Regions from separate parts of the Homo sapiens genome. Here region 1 is linked to region 2. The links are contacts of gene promoters, found by promoter capture Hi-C in blood cells and fetal thymus (Javierre and others, 2016). All regions are on one chromosome and are shown on one strand. Each heading gives the region's core, a stretch centred on a gene start or on the middle of the fragment in contact. The rest is flanking DNA. Distances are from core to core; before and after follow the strand shown.

What was found. Contacts are between HindIII fragments. The CHiCAGO score rates a contact against its expected background, and 5 or more counts as called.
Region 1: a contact is called between a fragment that was not itself captured here and the fragment with the promoter of SPCS3 in region 2, in 1 of 17 cell types (total CD8 T cells). The highest score is 5.3, in total CD8 T cells.

Annotation. Positions count from the first base shown.
Region 1 is chr4:177,336,555-177,342,971 of GRCh38, forward strand. NEIL3 (nei like DNA glycosylase 3) reads left to right here. Exons shown (of 10, transcript NM_018248.3): 5 at 3,229-3,303; 6 at 4,922-5,088. It overlaps LOC105377558 (a long non-coding RNA gene), which reads right to left. Exons shown (of 3, transcript XR_007058384.1): 3 at 6,157-6,417. Among named protein-coding and RNA genes, the nearest start is that of NEIL3, 30 kb to the left of the region's middle. The HindIII fragment of the contact is 1,847 bases long and covers 872-2,718 here.
Region 2 is chr4:176,317,382-176,324,495 of GRCh38, forward strand. It overlaps SPCS3 (signal peptidase complex subunit 3), which reads left to right and starts at 2,585. Exons shown (of 5, transcript NM_021928.4): 1 at 2,585-2,838; 2 at 4,789-4,862; 3 at 6,800-6,876. The coding sequence starts at 2,696. It overlaps SPCS3-AS1 (SPCS3 antisense RNA 1), which reads right to left and starts at 3,129. Exons shown (of 4, transcript NR_186171.1): 1 at 2,764-3,129. RefSeq lists an enhancer at 2,396-2,896 and silencers at 2,879-2,998, 3,119-3,188, 3,219-3,298. The HindIII fragment of the contact is 6,231 bases long and covers 1,524-7,114 here.

The sequences.
Region 1 (6,417 bases), core at 545-3,044, 1.0 Mb after region 2:
CTTAACTTGCCCTGCTTTTTGTTCTCTCCATACCAGGTATCCCTTTCAAACATAACATATTTACTTATTATACTGATTGTTTAAAAGCTGTCTCCTTCTGCTAGAACACAGTCTCAAAAGGAAACAAGGCTTTTGTTCACTGAAGTATCCCAACATCTAGAACGTGACCTGTGGTGTATGGTAGGCATTAGATATTAATATTTGTGGAATATGTGAATGAACTAACTCACAACTTATTTTCTCTCTCTGGCATATTAAGTACATGTTCTGCACACGCTTGTGTATTCCTGATTACAGCTGTTGGTGACATTAGAAGCTGCTGTTGTGGAAGGATAGCAATGGAAGGCAGGCAGCAGGGACCAAGGAATAAGTGATCAGTGAGGAAATGAAAGCAAAATGTAGAGCCCTTGTTCACATAGGCCGGAGTGAAGGGAAAATATTGGCTTGCTAGAGGGGATTCCAGGGCAAGACATGAGTTGGTTATTTTATTTTTTTTCTTGTTCTACAACTGCAGAGACTTGAACTTATTTATATGTTGCAAAAAAAAAAAAGTGGTTAAAGGGCAGAGGTTAAAATTGTAGAAAAGGGAATGGTGATGAATATAGCAATGTTCTAAGAGGGTAAGAGAGGTGAGAACCCTAACCCAGGTAGAATACATACATTTTAGTTTCTAGGGAAGACCTCTACATTAGGGCTTTTATCAAGACCTGTTGCCACTAACTAAATTAATTTTTAGCTCTTTTAGCTGAATTATTTTTTACATAATTGACTCTATTAACTAAATTATCTTTTACATAAACCCAGGTTATTTTTTTACTTTGTGTAGATACTTACTAGATAGTTTTAGTAATACCCAAATCAGTAGGAATGAAGCTTTAAAAGAAGCCAGTTAATGATAGGTCTAGATTAGATTCTGCTTTTTGATACTTGGAACACGTGAGTTCAGTATGGAAATAATGAAACAGAACTTTAACAAGAGTGAGCTTTTTAAAAATCACTTAGACCTCTACGAAAGTTGTTTTTGAAAAAAAGAGAACCCAGGGTATTGTTGTTATCTGTGATGCACTGAGAATTTACTTTTTATCTCTGCATCCAGCCATCCATCCATCTAGGAAATGATCATTTACCCATAATGCCTGGGGGTTTAAAAATTAATGACATTGGCCAGGCACGGTGGTTCATGCCTGTAATCCCAGCACTTTGGGAGGCTGACGCGGGCAGATCACGAGGTCAAGAGGTGAGACCATCCTGGCCAACGTGGTGAAACCATCCTGGCCAACATGGTGAAACCCTGTCTCTACTAAAAACACAAAAATGAGGTGGGCGTAGTGGCACATGCCTGTAGTCCCAGCTACTGGAGAGGCTGAGGCAGGACAATCGCTTAAGCCCGGGAGGCGGAGGTTGCAGTGAGCAGAGATCACGCCACTGCACTGCAGTCTGGCAACAGAGCGAGACTCTGTCTCTCTCTCTCACACACACACACACACACACACACATTTCTGAAATTTAGCTCTTAGCTTCTTAAAAGCACGTGCACAATTACTGAAAAAGTACAGTTTAACTTTTCAAGATGTGACTTAATATAGTATGTAAGATTTGGAAAGTAATAAATATTTTGGATGTATGTAAGTTTTAAAGTTTAAGTGAACAATTGAATATGTATAATACTTTCAGGATGACTATGTTGATTAGATTTTCACTTCTATAGTCACTGATAAGTGATTTTCTTTGTACATGTATGTGTCTGTTTATATGCAGCTTCCCTCAGTATACACAGGGGATCAGTTGCAGTACTCCTGCCTATACCAAGTCCATACATACTGAAGTCCTGCAGTTGGCCCTAGGGACACTGCTACACAAAAAGTCAGCCCTACACACATGCAGGCTTCACATCTCACAAATACTATATTTTTCATTCATGTTTGATTGAAAAAAATCTACATGTACGTGGACCTGCTCAGTTCAAACCTGTGTCGTTGAAGGGTCAGCTGTACATATAGATATTCACACACAGGCAACAAGCATGAGGCATCAGAGGGTTTCTTTTGGGATTACCATTGACGGCACATGTGCCAAATAATAATTCTGCAAGGGTAACACTGAGATTTATGTTAGGCTGTGTCAGAAAAAAATTCTTCAGTAAGGTCTGTGTCTGAGCTCTTCCATGTGTTAATAAGTACTTTGATATTAATGCATGTATAGAAATGCATATCTTTTCTAAAGCTCGATAGTGACCTTGGTGGTCATCTACTCCTGTGCCTATTTTCCCTTCCCTTCTTTCTGTTTTATATTGTTCTTGGTAATTTTTTTTTTTGAGTCCAGCAAGACTTCTCAAGGTGTCTGATAGACAATGCTGAGACTTTGAAGATGTCTAATACAGAATAAATATTCAATAAATGCTTGAATTTACAATTAAAATGTATAAATAGGAATCATATTTTGTCAGTAATATTATCAGTTCAAAATATAACTACTGTTAATGGTACTAAATAGATCCGTAAGAAATAGAGCTCTAGAAGATATTCATATACGATTGACTCTTGAACAACACAGGAATTGGGGTGCTAACCCCTCCCATTGAAAATCTATATACAATTTTTGACTCTTCAAAAACGTAACTACTAATAGCCTACTGTTGATCAGAAGCCTTACTGATAACATAGTTCACACATATTCTGTATGTTTTATGTGTTACATATGTATTATTACAATAAAGTAAGCTTGAGAAAAGAAATTGTTATTAAGAATATGGTAAGAGCCAGGTGTGATGGTCTGCGCCTGTAATCCCAGCTACCTGGGAGGCTGAGGCGGAAGGATGGCTGAGCCCAGGAGTTTGAAGCTGCAGTGAGCTATGATGATGCTGCTGCACTCCAGCCTGGGCAATAGAGTGAGACCCTGTCTCTAAAAAAACAGAAGAATATCATAAGGATTATATTTACTACTCATTAAGTGGAAGTCGGTCATCATAAAGTTATTGCTCCTCATCATCATTACATTGAATAGATTGAGGAGGAAGAGGAGGGGTTGGTCTTGCTGTCTCAGGGATGGCAGAGGCAGAAAAAAATCTGCGTATAAGTGGACCCTCCCAGTTCAAACCCATGTTGTTCAAAGGTCAGCTGTATTCAAAATCTATTTACAGTTCTCTTTCACAGAATTGGCAAGGCGTATTATTTCTTACAGTAATGAGCAAGTCATGAAACTAGGCTCTGCTGTTTTTTCCACTTCAAGGTTTGTCAATTAACAGATGAACAGATCCATCACCTCATGAAAATGATACGTGATTTCAGCATTCTCTTTTACAGGGTAAGAGCAAAATTTTTCAACTGTGTAAAATGTAAAATGTCAGTGGTTTCCTTTTGGAGTGCACCAAAAAATGTGAAAGCTGTATATAGCCATCTAGTGGAAAGAGCATGGAGGTACATTAAGGGAGAGTGACATTATGTGGGTGTAATTAACATCTTGAAATTCTAGGTCATAGGTCAGTTCAAACTCGTCTAACTATAACCATATTCAATTATCTTTATACCAAGTTAGGAGCAGCCATGTTGGCATTTCACAGACTCTTTTTCTATTTTTGGATACATAAAATATAGAAAGTCTAGAGAGGCTGACCTACAGTAACACTTTCAGATAACCTTAGTTCCATCAGGCTTTGCCACTGACTATAGACCTTGGTTCAATCAAGCTTTGCCACTTACTACTATCTGTGTGGTTTAGATTCTTTGGATAACTTTATTTAAGTTTAGTTTCTTCATCTGTAAAATGGGATAATAATGTTTCTCTGTCTACCACAGTTTTGAGAAGGAAGGACTTGCTGACTTGTAAATGTGGAAAGTTATATACTATATGCATATATAGAATTCAATAAACACATCTTTTAAACAAAGTAATGCAAATATGTATTTTCTTTCTTCACAGTCCATTTTCTGTATCCAAAATTTTCATTTTTACTATGTTCAGAAAGTCAGGTATTGTAGTATTCTTTATTAATTGGCCTAAAATGTGAATGAACCTCTTGCTCTGCAGATCGGTCTTGAGTAACTATGGCTATTTTTAAATTGCATTTGCTTACTTCTTCCTCCAGAAAAAGATGACCATAGAAAACTGCCCATTTCCACCCAGATTAAATTGGGTCTTTCAATACTTTCCTTAAATTAATATAAATTGTGTAATTTTCAGCTCATACGTGGTGAGCCATATTTCTGGGCTTTTAAATTTTCACAGTGCTGATGGAAACTCAAGATATTTTCTTTGTAGGAGCCTTAAATATTTGTGAGTGGAATAAAACTGACCAAATATATCAAAATATCTTTTGAAGTAGAATTTATACCAAAATGGAATATATTCTCTGCTAGGATGGTATTTGAATGTTTATTTTCTTTCTTTCTTTTTTTATTAATGAATCTCTAAGGTTAAAAAGGAAAAAAAAATCCTTTTTCAGGTCAACAAAGAAAATGCTCTTATTAAATTTTGTCCCCTAGAATTAAGTTTTTTGGTTGTTGAAACTGAGTGAGCAGTTTCAGTCTTCTAAAAATAATCAGATTTCAAGCTAATCTAGCCTTTTTCTTTTAACTATATAATTATGGTTAATTTAAAAAGCCTTAAAAGTGTAAAAGACATTTTTAAATATAGAACTTTTACATGTCATTTAGATAAGAGGATAAAGCTATGCAAAGAGCAATTTTGAATACTAATGTCATTAAATAATGACTTATTTCACACAAATTTTATTTGACAAATATTACCAAATCTTGTCAATACCTTTTTCTCTGATGAAAGAAAAGATTATATTGACATATGTACAAACATATGTAAATTTTTAGCAGATGATTTTCAGAGGTGACTTTCGAGAATGTGTCTTTGGCTCCTTGGCAGCACTGTTTTGTGGATAACAGAATTTTTTGGTTTTTTTTTTTTTTAGTGCCGTAAAGCAGGACTTGCTCTCTCTAAACACTATAAGGTTTACAAGCGTCCTAATTGTGGTCAGTGCCACTGCAGAATAACTGTGTGCCGCTTTGGGGACAATAACAGAATGACATATTTCTGTCCTCACTGTCAAAAAGAAAATCCTCAACATGTTGACATATGGTAAGATATTGAATTTAAAGGGATACCATTTGCCCTAACCATCTAACTAAAAGGCTAATAATCTGAGAATATAACTGAATAACTGTCAGGCTATTCAGAAGAGAACGTGACTCAAAAGTATTTTAGTCCTTGAAAGGAAATAGTAAATAATGTCACCAAAGAACCTGAGGGAGCCAAAGATGATTTATGGACCAGTTCTGAATTTAGGTGGAAAATCTCTGGCTCAGGGAATAATATCTAGCCTTTACCTTTAACCTAGTTTGTAAAGTGAGTACCAGGAGATGTCAATAATTGGAAAAAAATGCAACTACCTTCAAAAGTCTCTGCTTCACTTAGAAATAATATTATAAAACAAAAGCAAGATCTTTTTACAGATTGTATGTCTAGTTGGTGAAATAATAGACCACTTACTAAACCCACGTGTAGTAGTTCTGCCAGTTGCTGAGTATGTCTCTTCCAATGATACATTCCAGAACTGGAGAAATAACCGCAGGATAGGTTTGAGGACTTACTGTGAGAAGTATTTGGGCTAAAACTCCATTGATCACCTGACCAGACTGGTGGTGGATCACAGTGATATTTTTGTCTCCTGGAATTAGTGTCAGTTCAGAGCCAGTGTCCAATAATCCTTGAAAAGTCTGATTATTTTCTTTTCCCCAATGTACAGTTACCTTGGTAACAGGCCATAGGACCTTTTGGGGGAAATCTAAGAGAAAGATTATGCAGTAGAAAGCAGCTGCATAGCAGTATATGTGATTATAAGATTATGTAGTATAAAGCAGCTGCATAGCAGTATATGTGATTATAAGATTATGTAGTATAAAGCAGCTGCATAGCAGTATATGTGATTATAAGCCAGTAGTACCAGTATGACATGAAGCACAAAAAATGCTGCATGGGTTCAGGGATATTAGAGGTTTCTATGTGCAGGAAGGTTGGGAAGATCTCAAAGAAAGCGTCATTTGAGTGGAGCTCCTTGTTCCACTCTTTCCCCCCTTCTCCCTACTGTACTTGACTAGACTTAAAAAAAGTATCATTTGAAATTTACCTTAAAAAATAGAATTTTGATTAAACGATAAAGCAAACAGTATTTAATTGGAAAAAAGGAGCATGGCCACAAACCTTGACTCATTAATAAACATGGCATGGTGGAGGGATGATGAGAATACTGGCCAACCCCAACAGAGGCTCCACGTTGTGGAATAATAAAAGCTAGTTTTACAGGGAGAGTGGGATCAAATGGTGGGGGTCATTAGTAGTTTGGAGAATGGTTAAGGTCTTTCCTAAATTAGCACATTAAGGACTTTTAGTTGATTGTAGCATAGTTAA
Region 2 (7,114 bases), core at 1,335-3,834:
GCAAAGAAAGCACAAGAGCATATTAAAAACTAATTCATCATGACCAGGTGGAGTTTATTCCAGGAATGCTTACTGGGCCAATATTATAAAATCTATTCATATAACCCATTAAATAAGCAGAGGAAATAAGATAGAGGAAAGAAGTAGAGGAAATAAGATAGGGAAAATGCATCTGAAAACAATTTAGCACTTGTTTATATTTTTAAAAATTTCCCAATAGGAATAGATATTTCCTATCAATATGCAATATATATTATATAATGATACATGTACACACACACACACAATTTCCATCTCAAAGCCAACATCTTACTTGATGGAGAAATGAAAGGAAATTTCCTGCTCAAATCAGGAACAAAAAGATATCAGTTGTCCCCATCTGACTGAATATCATGTTGGAAATATTAGCTACTGAAATGAATAAACAATTGGAAATATAATAATTGGAACGGAAAAGGCAAAATGATATCTAATGTAGGTGATATAAATGTCTAGAAAATCTAAAGAAACACTTGGAAAAATAAAACAGAATAAGAAAATTCCCTATCCCATCCCTCTCCTGCTCTTTTTGTGGACTTTTATGTGTTTTTAGCACTACCAGTAAGTCAAGTTAAAAACTGTGGTGTCATAATAATAATACTAGTTTCATTTGAGTGTTCACAATCTGCATTCACTCTATGCTTTGCAGACCCCCACTCTTATTTAGGCAGTTGCTAAGTAACATAGAGTTTGTTTCCGAAATGCCCCTCCTATCAGTCTTCCTTTTGGGTCCATCACTCACTCTCCACATATAACTGGTAAATGGTTGCCTGTGTAGCGATGCTTGTTTTACATGTAATTTCCCTGATATAAAGTCAACTTCTTGACCTGGTTTTCTACCATAACTTACCTTTCCAGGCTTATTTCTGCTTACTCTTTTATACATGCATTGTTTATCAGGACCAGCCTTCTGAGTATCTCTTAGATATACCTGTACTTGCAGTTCAACAACAAGAATTATTTCCCTAAAACATGCTATAATAATAATGTGTCTTGTTTAGGCTTTGTGTTAAATAATTTGCACACTGTGTTGTCCCACATTACCAGGGCTGTAATTCCTTCCTCCTTTGCTATGTAACTTCCCAGGGTATTTTTTTGTTTTACATTTCAGATTTGTTTTTATTTTATTAACTCTACCTGATTATATACTTTTGAGTGTAGAAAGTGATCAGTACAATCTCTGTATCACTTGCAGTATAGATGGCATTCAATAAAAATCCTTTTTTTTCTTTTTTTGTTAACAAACTGTGCCAGCCTGGAAGTTAAAAACTAAGATTTTAAACGCAACTAAGGATCTCTCTTTAGTCTCTATTTTATCGATTTTTCATTAGTTGGCTCTATTTGAGCAGGGAGTCTGCCTTATTAGTGCTGTATTCTCAAGGCTTAGAACTATTCCTGGTACACGGTAGGCACTTGGTAATAATCCTACCTGTATGGCTATACAAAAATTAATTGAATGGTCATGAATAATGCAAAGAAGCAAAAGCTTAACAAGAGACAACATAAGCCAGTATCAAGATCAGATGTTCACAGTTTTCTGGTTTGTTCCTGATCACATTCCAGGACAGATATTTTTGTTTGGTTTATGGACTGAAATTTTTAAAAAAAATTTATTTCAGCAGACCCTGAATCCATTTTTATAAAAACCCTTAGCTGTGAAAGGAACAAAGGTTTTGGCAGATAGTATAATCAGAGTCAGGATTGGCTCGGTTTGAACCCTAATGCCCTTCAGGATATTGAAAATGTGATAAAATAATTGCATTATTTATTAATGACCCAACGAAATTCTTATACATTATGCTGTAGAGCAATTCCGCAGCCATTATCTTCTTTGCTCCTAAGAACCCAGAAAGGTTATCCTTTTATTTATCAGAAATCACCATGTTAAAATGCAAATACTTAGGATCGGTAGCCTCAACCCTTATCTTCTAAAACATCTTTAGCTATCCATACAAAGCAAAGCATTAATAGGAATTGGACTGACGTTGGAGGTGGAAATACTGATGCACGTGACAGCTTTAAGGACTTGGGCGGCTAATTCCCCACTCCCCACTGCTCCTCAGATCCTCCAAAAAAAGCTCAAGTCCTAACTTTGACCAGGTTTGACAAAGAAGGGAGAGGACCAGGCGTTTTGTAAAGTGCTGCTTCCAAACGCCACCCGTCAGGACAGATTCTAAACCACCTTAACTTGCTGCCGGTTTCAAGTGAAAATAAATGGTACATAAGTAATCAAGAAGTCGCAGTCCCAGACCTCTGACCAAAGAACCGAAAAAGGACAGCGAACGACCGGTTCCCAATTCTCTGAACCCAAAGGTCGGAGAAGCAATTTAGAAGAGGAGGGGGTGGGTCTTCCACAACAAACCCCGCCCCTCCCTCACTCGTCGCTGATTGGTGGCGGCGTTAGGCCGCGACGGAGGGGCGGGCCCGCGGCTGAGTCTCTCCCTTTCCGCGCCGCCCCGTGCGCGCTGTGGGTGTGTTTCGGGAAGCGGGCGCGCGCGCGCTCGCGTCGGAGGACCGGAAAGGAGGCGGGGCTGCGGCGGCGCGCGCTCCCGGAACGCGCGCACCGCAGACGGCGCGGATCGCAGGGAGCCGGTCCGCCGCCGGAACGGGAGCCTGGGTGTGCGTGTGGAGTCCGGACTCGTGGGAGACGATCGCGATGAACACGGTGCTGTCGCGGGCGAACTCACTGTTCGCCTTCTCGCTGAGCGTGATGGCGGCGCTCACCTTCGGCTGCTTCATCACCACCGCCTTCAAAGACAGGAGCGTCCCGGTGCGGCTGCACGTCTCGCGGATCATGCTGTGAGTGAGGCCGGGCCGGCGGTGCAGGACGCCGGGACCGGGCTGGGGCGGAAGCCGAAGCCGGGCCGCCGCGCCGGGGCTGCCGTGCCGGGGCCGCGGGCAGGGCGTCCGGATCGCCCTCCTGAGCGGCAGTTCGCCCCCGAGGGCGGTCGTCAGGGGTGGACGTCGCAGGCTTTTCCGGCGTCCCCTCGGAACTTGCACCCCTCCACCGTAAATTCCCGGGCTTGCTCTTAAATTTTAATTTTGAGCGTTCCTCAGGTCGGTGCCTCCGCTTGCTTCCTGTTCCTCACTTCCCTCCACCCACGCCTGGCCAATGAGGGAGCAACACAACAGCAGAGCCGGCGCCGCCGCCCGCCTGGGCTGGCGCCTCCCGCGCGTCCGGTGCCGCTCGTGGTCCGCATGCGAGGCCCTCCAGGCGCTGCCGCCGCGCTCTGGGTCGGGCTTCCGTGGGGTTTCCTGGCGGCTCTGGAGGCCACAGGACGGGGTTGTCTTTGTGTCATTCATCACCCGAGTTTGCCCTGTTTGACATTCCCTTTACAGTTGTTGCCTTTGCACCTTCAGAAGGCAGTAAACAGTTGGAGCTGCTTTGAAGTTGGCCAGAGATGTTGGGCACTGAGAGAATTAAGCATCTTAGCCTTCTGATACAGCGAGATTTTTGTTTTGTTGGGTTTCTTTATTTCTTTTTCTTTTGCCAACCACTTGAAGAAGTCTGCGAAAACGCCAAAAAATGCAGTTCGAAATGACAGTGCCATTTCGCTATTGCCTATTTTGTCCTTGATTTTATTCTCTGGCACTTTTGTCTTTAATCGTCGTATTTTTCCATCTCTTGTTCTCATACCCTTCTACTCTATTTCCGTCTTACACAAGTTCTTTAACCTTAGTTTATTTCTTTGTCAGAATCGCCAAGAAGCCAGTTATCAAATAGCGAGCCTTCTCCCCCCACCTTTTTTTTTTTTTTTTAAATTACTGTACTGATGTTTGTTAGATATTGTTCGAATAGACCTGGGGTGGACATCAGCACTGCCATTGTCAGCCCTGTGAGGGTTAGAAGAGCTTGGTGCATATTAAACACTGAACAGATGTTAGCTGTTGTTGTCTTGAGCAAGTTTTCTTACCATTCTGGGCCTTAATTTCTTTTTGTTTAAGATGGAAGTAATACCTAATTTTTAGGTTGTGAGAATTATTTGAAATGTGAAAAATATTGTCAGTGGGTCTGAGCCGTAGTAAACAGTAAATAGCAGCTGGTTACAGTAGTATCCCCTTAATGGGGTAGGTATACGTTCCAAGACCCCCAGTGGATGGCTGAAACCACGGATAGCACCAAACCCTATATATACTTGGTTTTTTCCTATACCGTACATACATACCTACCTATGATAAAACTTACAAGTTAAGCACAATAAGAGATTAACAATAACATAATAGAACTGTAACAATATACTATAATAAAAGTTATGTGAATATGATCTCTTTCCCCTTCTCTCAAAATAACTTATTTTACTGGACTCACCTATTTTCACACCAGATTGACCGCGGATAATTGAAACCGGAAAGTGAAACCTCGGATAAGGGGGTGATTACTGTATCACCCTTTAATATGCCATCTGTTAGTATTCGTATCACCTTGTAGTCATGTGTAGCTTTCTTCTACCCATTCTGCAAAATTGCTTTACATCAAGTATTTACTATTCTTTTTAGCAGTTTTTATCCCCTTCTGAGTTTTGTTAGGGATTCTCTTGAGGTATATGCAATTAGCTGAAGACCTACTTTAATATTGGATTAGAATGTTTCTCCTGTTTTCACACTTACAGGTTTCTCTGGTGTTTACTCGTTTCTTTGTGGAATTGCAGTTTCACCTATGCACACACCTGTATTCTTTCTCTTTAAGAAGTTACGTGAATTGTGTATGTTCTGTTGGAAGGATGGTAAAACTTTTATCTTTATTCCTAGAAAAAATGTAGAAGATTTCACTGGACCTAGAGAAAGAAGTGATCTGGGATTTATCACATTTGATATAACTGCTGATATCCTTTAAGAAAATATTTCGTTGCGTTTTCTGTAGTTTTATAATGAGATATGTGTTGTTTAATGATTTGGGATACAGTGTGACTATCTCATTGAATCAGCCAAACCTTGGAAATTCCGCCTTTTTCATCAGTAAAATAATGTTAATACCTCCCCATGACACTTGGAGAAAACTTCATAGATTCATGAGTAGTTGTGTGAACATACTTTAAATTCTTAACCGAAACATTAAATTGATTGAAAACTACATAAGAAAGTTTGAATCTGTATTTTAGAAAGAAAAAATAAAATTAGATCATTTGGATAAGAAGGAAAAATATTACCAATGCTCAGCCTGCCTGTGAATATTTCATGTACAATTTCAAATAATATATCCATATTTTATTATAGCAGAGAGAAACATATGTTTAAAAAGTGAATTACGTGTGTTATGATTTGAAAAGGTCATATCAAAATTATTGGTAACCTGTGGTTGCTTTTTGCCGTCATAACTCTTTTTATAAGGACTTTTATAAAAGTCAGAAAATATTAACAATTATAAGAGTTTCTTTGGTGGTGATATTTAAATATTTTCTCTTGAGATTGAGTTTCTATCTTTTGACAACTCTGATCATTTTGGCCAGGCTAGTCTTTTTTAGGGTCTTTCTTAGGTTAATATCTTGGCAATGTTCTCTGCCATTTCTAGCCTGATTTCATCTGCCTTTTTAATACCCCGTGATTTAAATGGTTGTGGAGATTGAACGATCTGAACTTGTGTGAAAGTACCTGTCTGAACAGTTAAAGCTGATCATATACTTGGGGAATTTATCTAATTTGCCTTTCTATGACCATGAAATTTACTTTTAGCTTAAGTTTTGGTAATTATTGGATTTAGAAATAGGCTAAGAATTAGTTCTGTAGGTACCTTTTTAGGAAATAGAGTGTACCATCGGAAGAGTCTTATGCTGAATTTCATGTGTATTTTTAAGTCTTTGTGTAATTTTTAAAAATCTGCTTAAGGGAATTTAGGTCTACTGTGAGGGTAGTAATTTTGTGTATCCAGAGAATTATAGTGAAATTTCCTGGTATCTATGGTATTTATATATTACCAATCTCATTATTTGTAGTTTCTTCAGATTTTCTTAATGCTGCTGCTACTACTACTTGAAATTGTTGCTGTTCTTGTAAACAGCAGTCCTAGACTTAGTTCTAAAGGAGTGATTCTTAGTGGTTACACATAATTAATAATGGAATGTAACAAATGTGTTACTACCAGTGTGGAAACTCATATAGTAAAATGAGTTAACTTAACAATTAACATAATACTTAAAAATCCAAATATTAACTCCGCTTATTTCTTGGTATTGGCACCAGTCTTGTTAATTCTGGTGAAGTTCTTGTCCTCTTTGGGAGACTGAATTGAGCCACATTGGTGTCATTTGCATCTTTGAGAGACATTTTAATGTCTACTTGCATGTGACCAAAAGTGACATGTACAATTTATTATACTTGGTTAATTATTGAGCCTTGTTTATGTTTGCATATTGTTAAATTTAAATGGTGGTGATTGTTTATACTTTAGAGCTCCAGTGGAATTGTATTTGCTTGAAATATCGAGTCCTCTTTTTTTTTTTTTTAACTTAGTTGATGTTACAGAAAACCAAATTTTGGATTTGTTCTTTTCTTACTAGTCAAAGTATCTCAGCTAGTAATCCTTGGAGGAGTATGGGAGGATGCCAGTAATCTCATACTGACATTTTTTTGTTTTGGAATAAGCTGGATTTCACAATGTATTTATCTTCTGCATATTTTTATTAAATTAGTGGCACATTATGTTTCTGGGCCGCCTCTTTTCTACTTTAGTATTACTGTTATGGATAAATAACCTAAGAATAATTAAGATCTATTTAAAAGTGATATACTGCTCATAAATTTATATTTTCCTTAATTTACTTACATCTAGAGAATATATTTGATTGGAATGTTAAGCAGTTGTTTCTTTATTTATCAGCAGAATATTCAACAAAAAATAATGTAAGTATATCTAATTAGAAGTATTTTAATAGCTATTTAAAGTCTTACTCTTTACGAAAGAATACACATTTTTATATATTTAAAATATCTGACCTGAGTTACCTAGCAAAACATCACAAGCCAGTGGAGGTAGCTGTGTTATGAAAACATTTGATCTTTTGGGAGCCTTTTTGTTGTTGTTGTTGTTTGTTTGTTTGTTTTCTGTTTGTTCTATTTAGCTCTCTAGCATTGGGGTCTC